Regions from separate parts of the Homo sapiens genome. Here region 1 is linked to region 2. Evidence: promoter capture Hi-C in human tissues and cell types (Jung and others, 2019). All regions are on one chromosome and are shown on one strand. Each heading gives the region's core, a stretch centred on a gene start or on the middle of the fragment in contact. The rest is flanking DNA. Distances are from core to core; before and after follow the strand shown. Region 1 overlaps BTBD7 (BTB domain containing 7). Region 2 holds the start of COX8C (cytochrome c oxidase subunit 8C).

Region 1 (4,985 bases), core at 1,575-4,074, 60 kb before region 2:
TTTGGACATTTAATGATCAAAGGCAAAATACCCCCCAGACAAATGAAAAGTGAGAGCAGAGGGTCAGAGGTGAAGAGTTTGTAGTCTATGAAAAATGACTTAAGTTTTAAAACAAAAGATGCAATATTATATATATAAACTTTTTATGTTTTATATATAAACATATATATAAATATGAAACTGAGATTAACTCTTATGTTGCATGTTTGAAACCTGCATTTACTACTCTGATCTGTTGATAATGGTCTTTAGCTTGGCCCCATTCTTCTCTAGGAAGTACATTCAAATTTGCTGAAGAGGAGACAATTATAGACAGAAGTAAAATAAACTGTCAACTCAACAGAACTGAGACAGAGGGAAGAGTGTCAATATGTAGACAGTGGAGGTTGGGAAGAGGGTGAAATGGATGAGTGAGTGGGGACAGTAAGTCTTTGCTATTTTGCATTTGTTTCAAGCCACACACTCTTGGAAAGTGACCAAGTTGCTAAGGGAAAAAACGAGGTCATTGCTTTCAGTTGCTTCTGTTAGATTTTTAATTCAATAAAATATAATCACATCCATTACGACTAAAAATATGGGCAAATGCATTACAGAGTCCATTTTGGAACTAAAGTTATAAATAAATTTCATATTGTAAAGATTGAAAAATGCATTTGTGATCAAGATGAAAAAACAAAATCTGCAGTTTGAAGTCTACAGTAAATATGCATGTAGATGTTGGTGCTAATTCTGGGGTATTTTGCTCTGAGGTCAACAGTATTTATGACAAGGATGGTTAAAGTTCATGAGTTAACCTATAGTTCTCCTAAACAATGAACTTTTCCTCAAAAAATTACCAATGAATGGTATACTCTTACTGTTCTCACATTTTCAGAGCTGTTTACCCAGTATATATGCTAAGGTCATTATGAAAAGTCAAAGTGATCAAACATGTGCTCCTTCTTTGGAGACTCTTCCAATCTAGTCATCTCTTTTGGAGTTTTAAATACTAGTCTTTTAAATATAGGTACTGCTACCAATCAGGCTTCTTATGGTGCAATAGCAGAAAACAAGTCTAGTTGGCTTAAAGAGAAAAGGAATTTATCTCAAAGGACACTATTAATCTACAGTGTTGCTGGGAAAAGCTGGAGACCCAGCTCAGTAAACATGGACTAAGGAAGGCTGCAGGATGGGGACTCCACAACATGGAAGCCCAGTGAAGACCCTGAGTTGCCTGGGACCCTGGCCACTAAAGCTCCTACATTCTGTCCCTGGATAGTGAATGTCATCAATGGCACCACTGCCATGGCCTTCTCTCCTTTTCCACTAGATGTTGCTGCCCCACTCTGCTTCCAGAAAAAATTCTCTATAGTCCCTGCTTTTCTGTACCACTAACCCTGACTAGAGAAGGCTGCAGAAGAAAGTATATGACCTTTAAGGCTTTTCTACTGGGAGGTGGGCTCTGCCTCCTATGAAGACATACACAGTAAGGCTGGGAAGAAGGTCCTAATGCTGGGCAGCCAGAAAAGTCAAATGACTAACATAGGAATGCTACCTATTCAGGAAACAATGGCTGAAACAGTACAAAGCCCCTGTTCTCTGGCTAAGTGCTCTGAAGCAAAGTTTGAGTGAGCTACTCAGATCCCTGACCCTACAGCTTTAAACCTCCTAGCTGAGCCCACATTACCCTCAACCCAAGTCGGGGGTAATGATTTGTTGTTCAGCCACAAATCGGGCTCACAGCTGAGGCTCCTACAAGTTGATGTTTCAATCACTATAGTTTTCTGTTTTGTTCCTAAGAGTAGGCCACAGCCTCCCACCCTCATCCCTGGAAATTGGGTCCAGTATTTCTCCCTTCTCCTACCATGCCCAAATTCCTGAGCCTAGAGTCAGAAGAGCTGGTATGAGTTACAGCTTCGTGACTTCCAAACCTGGGAAAAGGCTAGTTAATAATCTCTGAGCCTCACCACATTCATCGGCTGACAGGATGACCAATGGAGATAAGTAACAGCCCTCTGTACATTCAAATTATAAGCATGAGCTCATTAGTTAACAGACTTCAAAGATATGATAAAGTCTCCAGTTCTTTAGGATTGTGGCCTTCTCTTGGTCTCTCTGGTTCTTATGGGCACTGATGTCATATCTTTACATTTAAAAAGTTAATTCTGGGCCAGGCATGGTGGCTCATGCCTGTAATACCAGCACTGAGGCGGGTGGATCACCTGAGGTCAGGAGTTTGAGACCAGCCTGGCCAACAGAGCAGATCCCCGTCTCTACTAAAAACACAAAAAATTAGCCGGGCATGGTGGCAGGCACCTGTAATCCCAGCTACTTGTGAGGCTGAGGCAGGAGAATCGCTTGAACCTGGGAGGCAGAGGTTGCAATGAGCCAAGATTGGGCCATTGCACTCTAGCCTGGGCGACAGAGCGAGACTCTGTCTCAAAAAAAAAAAAAGTTAACCTTGTAATCAAAGTAGTATATGCTCATCATTTAAAAAGTCTGGTAGTAACACAATGCTAACCCTAAACCCCCCCGCCCCCCCACCCCGTCCTACATCCCTTCCACTTTCAGTTCTGCTCCCCAGAGGTAACTACTCTCAATTCTTTAGCTCTTTCTTCTAGTATTTACCTCTCTATATTACTATTTTTATTAAATCAATATTTAGTGTTTATAATTAAATAGTGCTTACTGCTGAGCCATGCTGTGTACTAAAATTATTTATTCTTTCATATGTACTGTTAAATTTATCTTGGAAATATTCATTTCTTCTTTTTCCATTTGCTTCATTTTCTAAGAACTTATTGCTAATTCTTCATAAATGCACCACAAGAGCCATAAAATTGCTTTGTCATTTGCTATTTAATGTTCAAACATTGAAAGTAATTGATTTCTTCCGAGACACCTCTTTCCTTGGAGACTTTCACCCTCCCGGTCTGGGCTAGACTGAATGCCCACAAGACCTACTGTGTGGCTGATGCGTGGGATCTCCCTTTGCTTCCTTCCCGTGTTGGAGCCCATTTTCTAGATCCTTCACTTCTTTGTTCTTGGTTTGCTTCGTCATTTGGTGGAATACATTCCCAGCAGCTGCCTGAGTGGGGAAGCAGGGGAAATATCCCTACACAGGCAGTTTTTCGAGGTATGACTGAAAAATGCCTTTATTTAGCCTTACACTTGATTGACTGTTTGGCTAAATATAGGATTTTGTGTTTAAAATAATTTTCCATCAGCTTTTGGAAGACACTACTTCACTGTATTGTGGTATTCAGTTGTTGCTACTGAAAATCTCAATACCATCTGATTCCTATTTCTTTGCATGGAACCTAATTTTTCTCCTCCCTGCAACATTTTAAAATTGTCTCTTTTTCCCCAGTGTTCTGAAAAAGAAACTTTTTATATAGAAATTCCTTTAGTTTTGGAAATATTTCTTATATTACTCCTTAGATACTGTCTTCTCTTCACTTTTCTCTGGTATATATTTCTAAAGCCACTATTTGTTAGATGTTAGACCCTGGATGAATACTCTAGTTTTATTTGTCTCCACTCATCTCTTTATTATATTATTTACTTTCTAGATTTCCTCAACTGTACCTTTCAATGCTTCCATTATATCTTTCATTTCTGCTATCTTATTTCTAAAAGCTCCTGTTTTTACTTTAATAGCATCCTGCTTATGTCTCACTGATTCCATAAAAAGTTCTTTTATATAAGGATATTTTGATTCTACTGAAGTTTTCTTCTGCTCCCTTCATTGTCTGCTTCCTCCAGGACTTTGTTCTTTTTGCTCTGATCTCTGTCTCAATTTGGAAGCTTTCCTCAAATGTCCAGTTATCCTTGGATGGGTTTTCATATTTAAGATTGAGGCAGTAAGCAGCTGTTTGAAAGCTCTGCTGCACAGGCAGGCCTGATGACTGTAGTCTCCTCTGTAAAACAAATGGAAGGCAAGCTGGCTTTTTCATTTTATAACCCCTGAGTGTAATTTCACTGTGGAAACCCAAAACATCAGTATCTGTAAGTGTATATACTTTTGAGCTGTTCACCATTTCCAGGACTCCAGTTTCTTCTTGTATTTGCCTGGCTGGTATTACAGCAGGGGTTAAGGAAGTAGGTGATTTCACCATAGGGTTTCACATAATTATAGATTTCAACCCTGTGCCACATCCCTACCCTCCTCTGTTGCTATTTCCAGATTTGGAATCTCTCTAATTTCTTTAGAAAATTCAGAAAATTTTAGAAAATCTCAGGTCTCCTGTGTTTTGTTGTGGGGGCAGTAGCAGAGAGGCGAATTGAGGGGGCGGGGACAAGGGCATGTCACCTTGTTGCAAGTGATAGTAATGCAAGAACAGACAAATGGACCACTGGGACAAAATGGAGACTGAGTACTGATGCATGAATACAATCCATGCATACATAGCAGCTTTAAGAGTGGCACAAATCAGGAATAGGGAATTAGTAGGGAATACTTGGCTCACTATATGCAGAAGAACAAAACCACATCCTTTTCTAATACCATACATAAAGATGAATTCCAGGGTTGGGGAAAGGGTCTGATCCCTCAGTATTCAGACTTAAAATCAACTCTGTCTTTTTAGTTCTATGCTATGCATATCCCTTCTTTCCAGAGTACTTAGTTCCACCTGGCCTGAGCCACGCCAGAGCTCTAACAGGTGAACTGCCTCACTTCTCCTCAGTAGCCCCCTTTACAGCATCTAATTACAGGCTGCTCCTCTGTTAAGCCAGTAATCAAGTCTCTATCTGCTTTCCATTTTCCAAAAATTTCAACATCTTCCCCATTGTTGTTTTCTCCTTAGGTATCTTTGTCTCTTTGTCCTTGAGAGCTTATATTTGTTTTATTCCTTCACTATGATAATAGGGCTTTGAAGGAAATAAAATTAAACATATTCATTTTGTTATGTTTAAATGAAAATCAAGTGAAGTTAAATCTGGTCCTAAATGCCAGGCCTGTAAGTTGAGGCCGTTATCTACTTGTGATTGCCTACTGCCTGCTC
Region 2 (4,895 bases), core at 1,955-4,454:
ATGTTGTTTGTATTGGTAATTTGAGCAGCTAAAAGAGCTGTCTCCTGGGGTGGGGGTGGGTGGCAGGGAGCTTAATTGTGTTGTGGCTGAATTTGGAGTCACCACTGTCGAAAGTGTTTTAAGGCTTTTGTTACAGAGAAAGACCTAAAATGCTTAAATCTCACTTGAATTGCACTCTCTTCTAAACTTCTCAAGATTAGGATTAAACCAGTCAAGCTTGCCTATTATTGGGCTCTTTCTCACTTTACTTCAGAATTTTTGTTGCTTTTTAAAAATTAAAAATGGGGTATTACCCAAAGAAAAAAGTCTTGACTAATATCGTCTTTCTTAAAGCTCTTTTGTTGTTAGCAATAGAAATGCAGCACCACCTAGTTTAAGCCCAAAGCAGGATTTATCATAAAGTATATAAAGAGAGGCCCAGAACTCAAGGAGAGGAAAGTGTCCTAACTTCAGAATAGGGAGAATTCAAACCAGGGCTTTGAACACAGGCAGGATATTCCCTCTGGTTCTTATCTCTGGTTCTTTGAGCAGCTTGGCTACATTATTAACTCACTGTGGAAGGGCTTTCTTGCTAGGCAGGGAAAAAAAAACATGGCTCCCAAGTTACAACATCCATCCCAACCAACAGACTGGGTCCCAGCCCTCTCTTTGGTCCAATATTTGAGTCAAGTAGTGTAACAACTGTGGCCAGGAAACAGAGCAATGTTGCACTAAATCATTTCTTACAGGACTCGTGTAAATCACAGGTGCTCAAATTATTATCTGGGGATATCTAAGGCAAAATTAGAGTTTACCTGATGTGACTGGGCAGGATGAGCCAAGGGAAGACTGAGAACAAGGAGATGAGGTTAGGGAGGTGGCCAGCCATGGTTCATGCAGGTCCTTGATTGGTTAGGGTAAGATTCCAGAGCACAGTTGCCCAGTGGAAATGTAACATGGGCTGGGCATGATGGTTAACTCCTGTAATCCTAACATTTTGGGAGGCCGAGGCAGGTGGATTGCTTGAGGCCAGGAGTTCAAGACCAGCCTGGGCAACATGGTGAAACATGCCCCAGAGTTAGGAGGCGGGGCCTTTGGGAAGTAATTAGATCATACCACAGCCCTCATGAATAGGATTAGTACCCTTATAAAAGAGGCCCTAGAGAGCTACCTTGTTGCTTCCATCATACGAGGACACAACCAGAACAAGGAAGTGGGCCCTCACTGGACATCAAATCTACCAGCACATTGATTTTGAATTTCTAGCATCCAGAACTGTAAGAAATACATTTCCGTCATTTATAAGCCATCCAGTCTGTTGTATTGTAACAGCCTGAACAGACTGAGACAGTAACAGAAAGGAACAAAAGTAACTGACCTGCTTCTTCATATTCATAAGCATGAAATGACAACCAAGGATCATAAGATACTTGAATAAAACTGGCAAGTTCAAAATAAATAAATAGAATGTACGCTAAAGAAACACAGTTCATGGAATAGAGATAACTTTTTAAAAGTTCAGATTAATATTCTGAAAGAAATCTAAAGTGATAATATCTATAAAATACTAACAGGTGACTGTAAAAGCAAAAAATAGTATGTTTTAAAACTATAATTCTAAAATAAAAAATCATGGGCTAGAAGAAAAAGTCAAGGAAATCCTGCAAAATGTAGAACAAGGGACAAAACGTTGATGAGTGAGAAAAAGGTTGAAAGACAGAGGTGACCCGCTAAGAAGGGCCAGTGTCCGTCAATAAGAATTTTAGGTTGAGAACAAAGAAAACAGAGAAGCAAATAAATAGGAATAGTGCTCCTATGGCTAAAGAACCATGACTTCAGATAGAAAGGTCTTACCCACTGCTAATCCATATGAATGGAAAAATACCCATATCTAACAGTATCCTGGAGGAACGTCACAATTCCAAAGACAAAAAGGAATGCCTAAAAGATTCCCAAAAGGAAAAAAGAGGGTACTCAAAGGAATGACAACTATATTGGCATTATATTTATCGGCTCACTAGATGCTGGAAAAGAAAGGAACAATGCCTTTTGAAAATCTCTGAAGGACAATGATTTTGAGCCCAGAGTTCTATAACCATTCAAATTAGCATTTAAATGGAGACCAATATATATATATTTTGATTTCCAAGGACTGAGGAACTTTATCACCTACAAACCCTTCCTGAAAGAACAGCTTAAGGATGTACTACAGCAAAACGAAAAGAAATCTAAGAAAGAGGAAGATACCAGGCTGCAGGAACAGAGGAATCCAGAGAAACCCTAGAGTGTTACTCGTGCAATAGGCCCCCAAAAGAAATAATGTGAAGACACAGGATCATTGTAGTGGATAAAGTTTTATTACAGTACTAAATTTAAAAATCACAGTATATTTACTTTTCCCTCAAGAGGGTCTGGGCACAGTGCCTCATGCCTGTAATCCCAGTACTTTGGGAGGCTGAGACAAGAGGATGGCTTGAGCCCAGGAGTTTGAGATCAGCCTGGGTGACACAGTGAGACCTGTCTCTACAAAAAAATAAGAAAATTAGCCGTAGTGACAGATAATTACATCACTGTTTCTACTGGGTCCAAACACTCTATTTGACCCTGCCATGAATATTTTTTATATCATCAGCCGACTATAGAAACTTGTTCTTGGTTTTCAGTGTTAAGAATTAACCTATAGACATTTTATGGAAGATTTAATTTGCATTAGAAACAGTGTGCTATAAACTCTGCCAATGCCAGGGCATGTTAAGAGGTATATAAAGTATAGGTAGAGAGGAAGACAAAGGAAAGGAGTAGGGGTGCCAAGTCCCTCACCTTACCCTGCAGAAAAGAGATACTTAGTGTGAGGTGGGGTTGGGGCTCAGGGGAGGGTGGCAGGAGAGTTTAGGAGAGGATAGGACACGTGGGTGGAAAGTGAGGTGAATGAGGGCTGGGAGGTTGCAGGGAGCCCTGAGTGGAAAAGGCGGGGCAGAGCAGGGGGTACTGAACTGAAGAGAGTGGAGCAGAGCAGGGGTGTGCTGGGTGGAAGGGGTGGTGCAGAGCAAGTGGTGCTAAGCAGAGGGGGTGGGGCAAAGCACGGACTGCTGAGTGGAAAGGGCAGTACAGAGAAAGGAGTGGTGAGCGGAAGAGGCGGGGCAGAGCAGGAGGTGCTGGGCAGAAGGGGTGGGGTAGGGGGCGAGGGCAGAGCGCCCCCTCGTGGCTGGGGCGCCTGCGCAAACCAGCTGCCTCACGAGCACTGGAGCTTGCGTTACTTGGCCTCACCTCACCTGTGCTGTCCACGCCTGGCTTTGTCTCACCTGACGCGATATGCCTCTCCTGCGTGGGCGCTGTCCTGCCCGCCGCCACTACCGCCGCTTGGCCCTGCTCGGCCTGCAGCCCGCTCCCCGCTTCGCCCACTCGGGGCCCCCGCGCCAGCGGCCCCTGTCTGCCGCGGTGAGTTGAGGCCCAGCCATCATGGTGGGCGGGAAGCGCGTGGCCCTGGCGGGGCGCCCCGACGGGTGGGGAGAAGGGAGGACACGGCGTGCAGGCCTCGCGTGGGAGGCTCTTGTGGCTTGGTCGCCGTTGGGGGAGGTTCCTGTGGCTTGGTCGCCTTTGGGGGAGGTTCCTGGGAGAGGGTCGCGGTGAGGATGCCGTCGTCGGGCACAGGGGCGGAAAGCCCGGGACCCTGAGGAACGCGCGGGGATTGGGCCTCCTTCGTTGTTACCCTTTACCGGCACCTGGCTCGGGGGCGGGGCTGTGGTTTCGCGGAGGAATGATTTACCATCCTCGGACGTCCTCGGCACTGCGAAGATCTAGCGTTTTCGATAAAATGGTGGAAATCCTGGGCCACATCGAAGTTCCAGAGTGCGAAGGTTGGAACCGGAGACCCCTTAGATGAAAAATGAATTAAAAAAAAAAATCAGGTGATCCATGAATCGATTTTCAGCATTTTAGATTTCACTAGGCGCCTGTTTCTAGGACAACGGTCTAGGTGCTCAAAATGTTTTTTTTAAGCACTTTTTGTTAGGCAGCAAGTCACTGGCCTAGGAAGCCATACTCAGCAGCGCGTGTCATCTTCTCTTCCAGGAAATGGCTGTTGGACTTGTGGTGTTTTTTACGACCTTCTTAACACCAGCTGCATATGTGCTAGGCAACCTGAAGCAGTTCAGAAGGAATTAGATGGAAGATGATGTTGAACAGCTGTTAACGTCCAAAAAACTTTCAGAAAAAGCTGTGTTTTTGTTAACGAGCAAAATTGCCTAGTTGAGTTGATGCAACCATTGTGGTATTCACTTTCCTCATGTTTATGATGAATATTTTGCACTTTTTTAGTACTGTGCATTATATAGATGTATAGTCAAAAATGTTCTGCTTAAGTGTTAAATAAAACGGAAACACTTATTCGTGCTTGGTAATATGTGTGCAGATTATTTTCTAAACATCGTGAAAGCTGATGAAAATTTACCGAGAACTGCTGTGAAAGGTCTGACTTAGTGACTCAGGGAGTGACATTGTTACTATATGGGAGTGAATGTATCTAGTGACATCACCCTTAAAAGATTAGATGTGTAGCTGTGAGGTAATATAAGTTTAGCTAAATGGTTTTTATGTTCTATTAGTACTGCCATGCCACACTTCACAATTTGCTGTGAGAAGTACAACCATTTCTTTGCCTCTTTAAATGACTACACGTCAGAATGTGAAGAATGAGTACATCTCCTATTTTAATGATTTTATTATCTTCTCTTAGTCTTCTGTGAGGTTTGAAGAATCATACACATCTTTGAACTGTCTTAGCTGTTGATGATGCTGTTATCATGGGCAACATAGTTCAACTCTGAGTCTTGGTTTCCTTATCTCTGTAATGGGGACTTAAAATTGCTGTCTTGAAGTGATGTTGTGGAAATAAAACATTGAACAAAGAAAGATAA

Evidence for each region. The method cuts DNA at HindIII sites, captures the fragments that hold promoters and counts their contacts. A contact is called where the count stands out against the background at its distance.
Region 1: a fragment that was not itself captured here is called in contact with the fragment with the promoter of COX8C in region 2 in 2 of the 25 tissues and cell types used here (H1 embryonic stem cells and bladder).

The regions. Positions count from the first base shown.
Region 1 is chr14:93,284,809-93,289,793 of GRCh38, forward strand. All of the region lies in intron 3 of BTBD7 (BTB domain containing 7), which reads right to left. Among named protein-coding and RNA genes, the nearest start is that of BTBD7, 46 kb to the right of the region's middle. The HindIII fragment of the contact is 3,624 bases long and covers 1,013-4,636 here.
Region 2 is chr14:93,343,978-93,348,872 of GRCh38, forward strand. COX8C (cytochrome c oxidase subunit 8C) reads left to right here and starts at 3,205. Exons shown (of 2, transcript NM_182971.3): 1 at 3,205-3,417; 2 at 4,051-4,379. The coding sequence starts at 3,292. The coding sequence ends at 4,143. It also overlaps a transcript of UNC79 not described here. RefSeq lists an enhancer at 1-296. The HindIII fragment of the contact is 7,905 bases long and covers 1-4,895 here.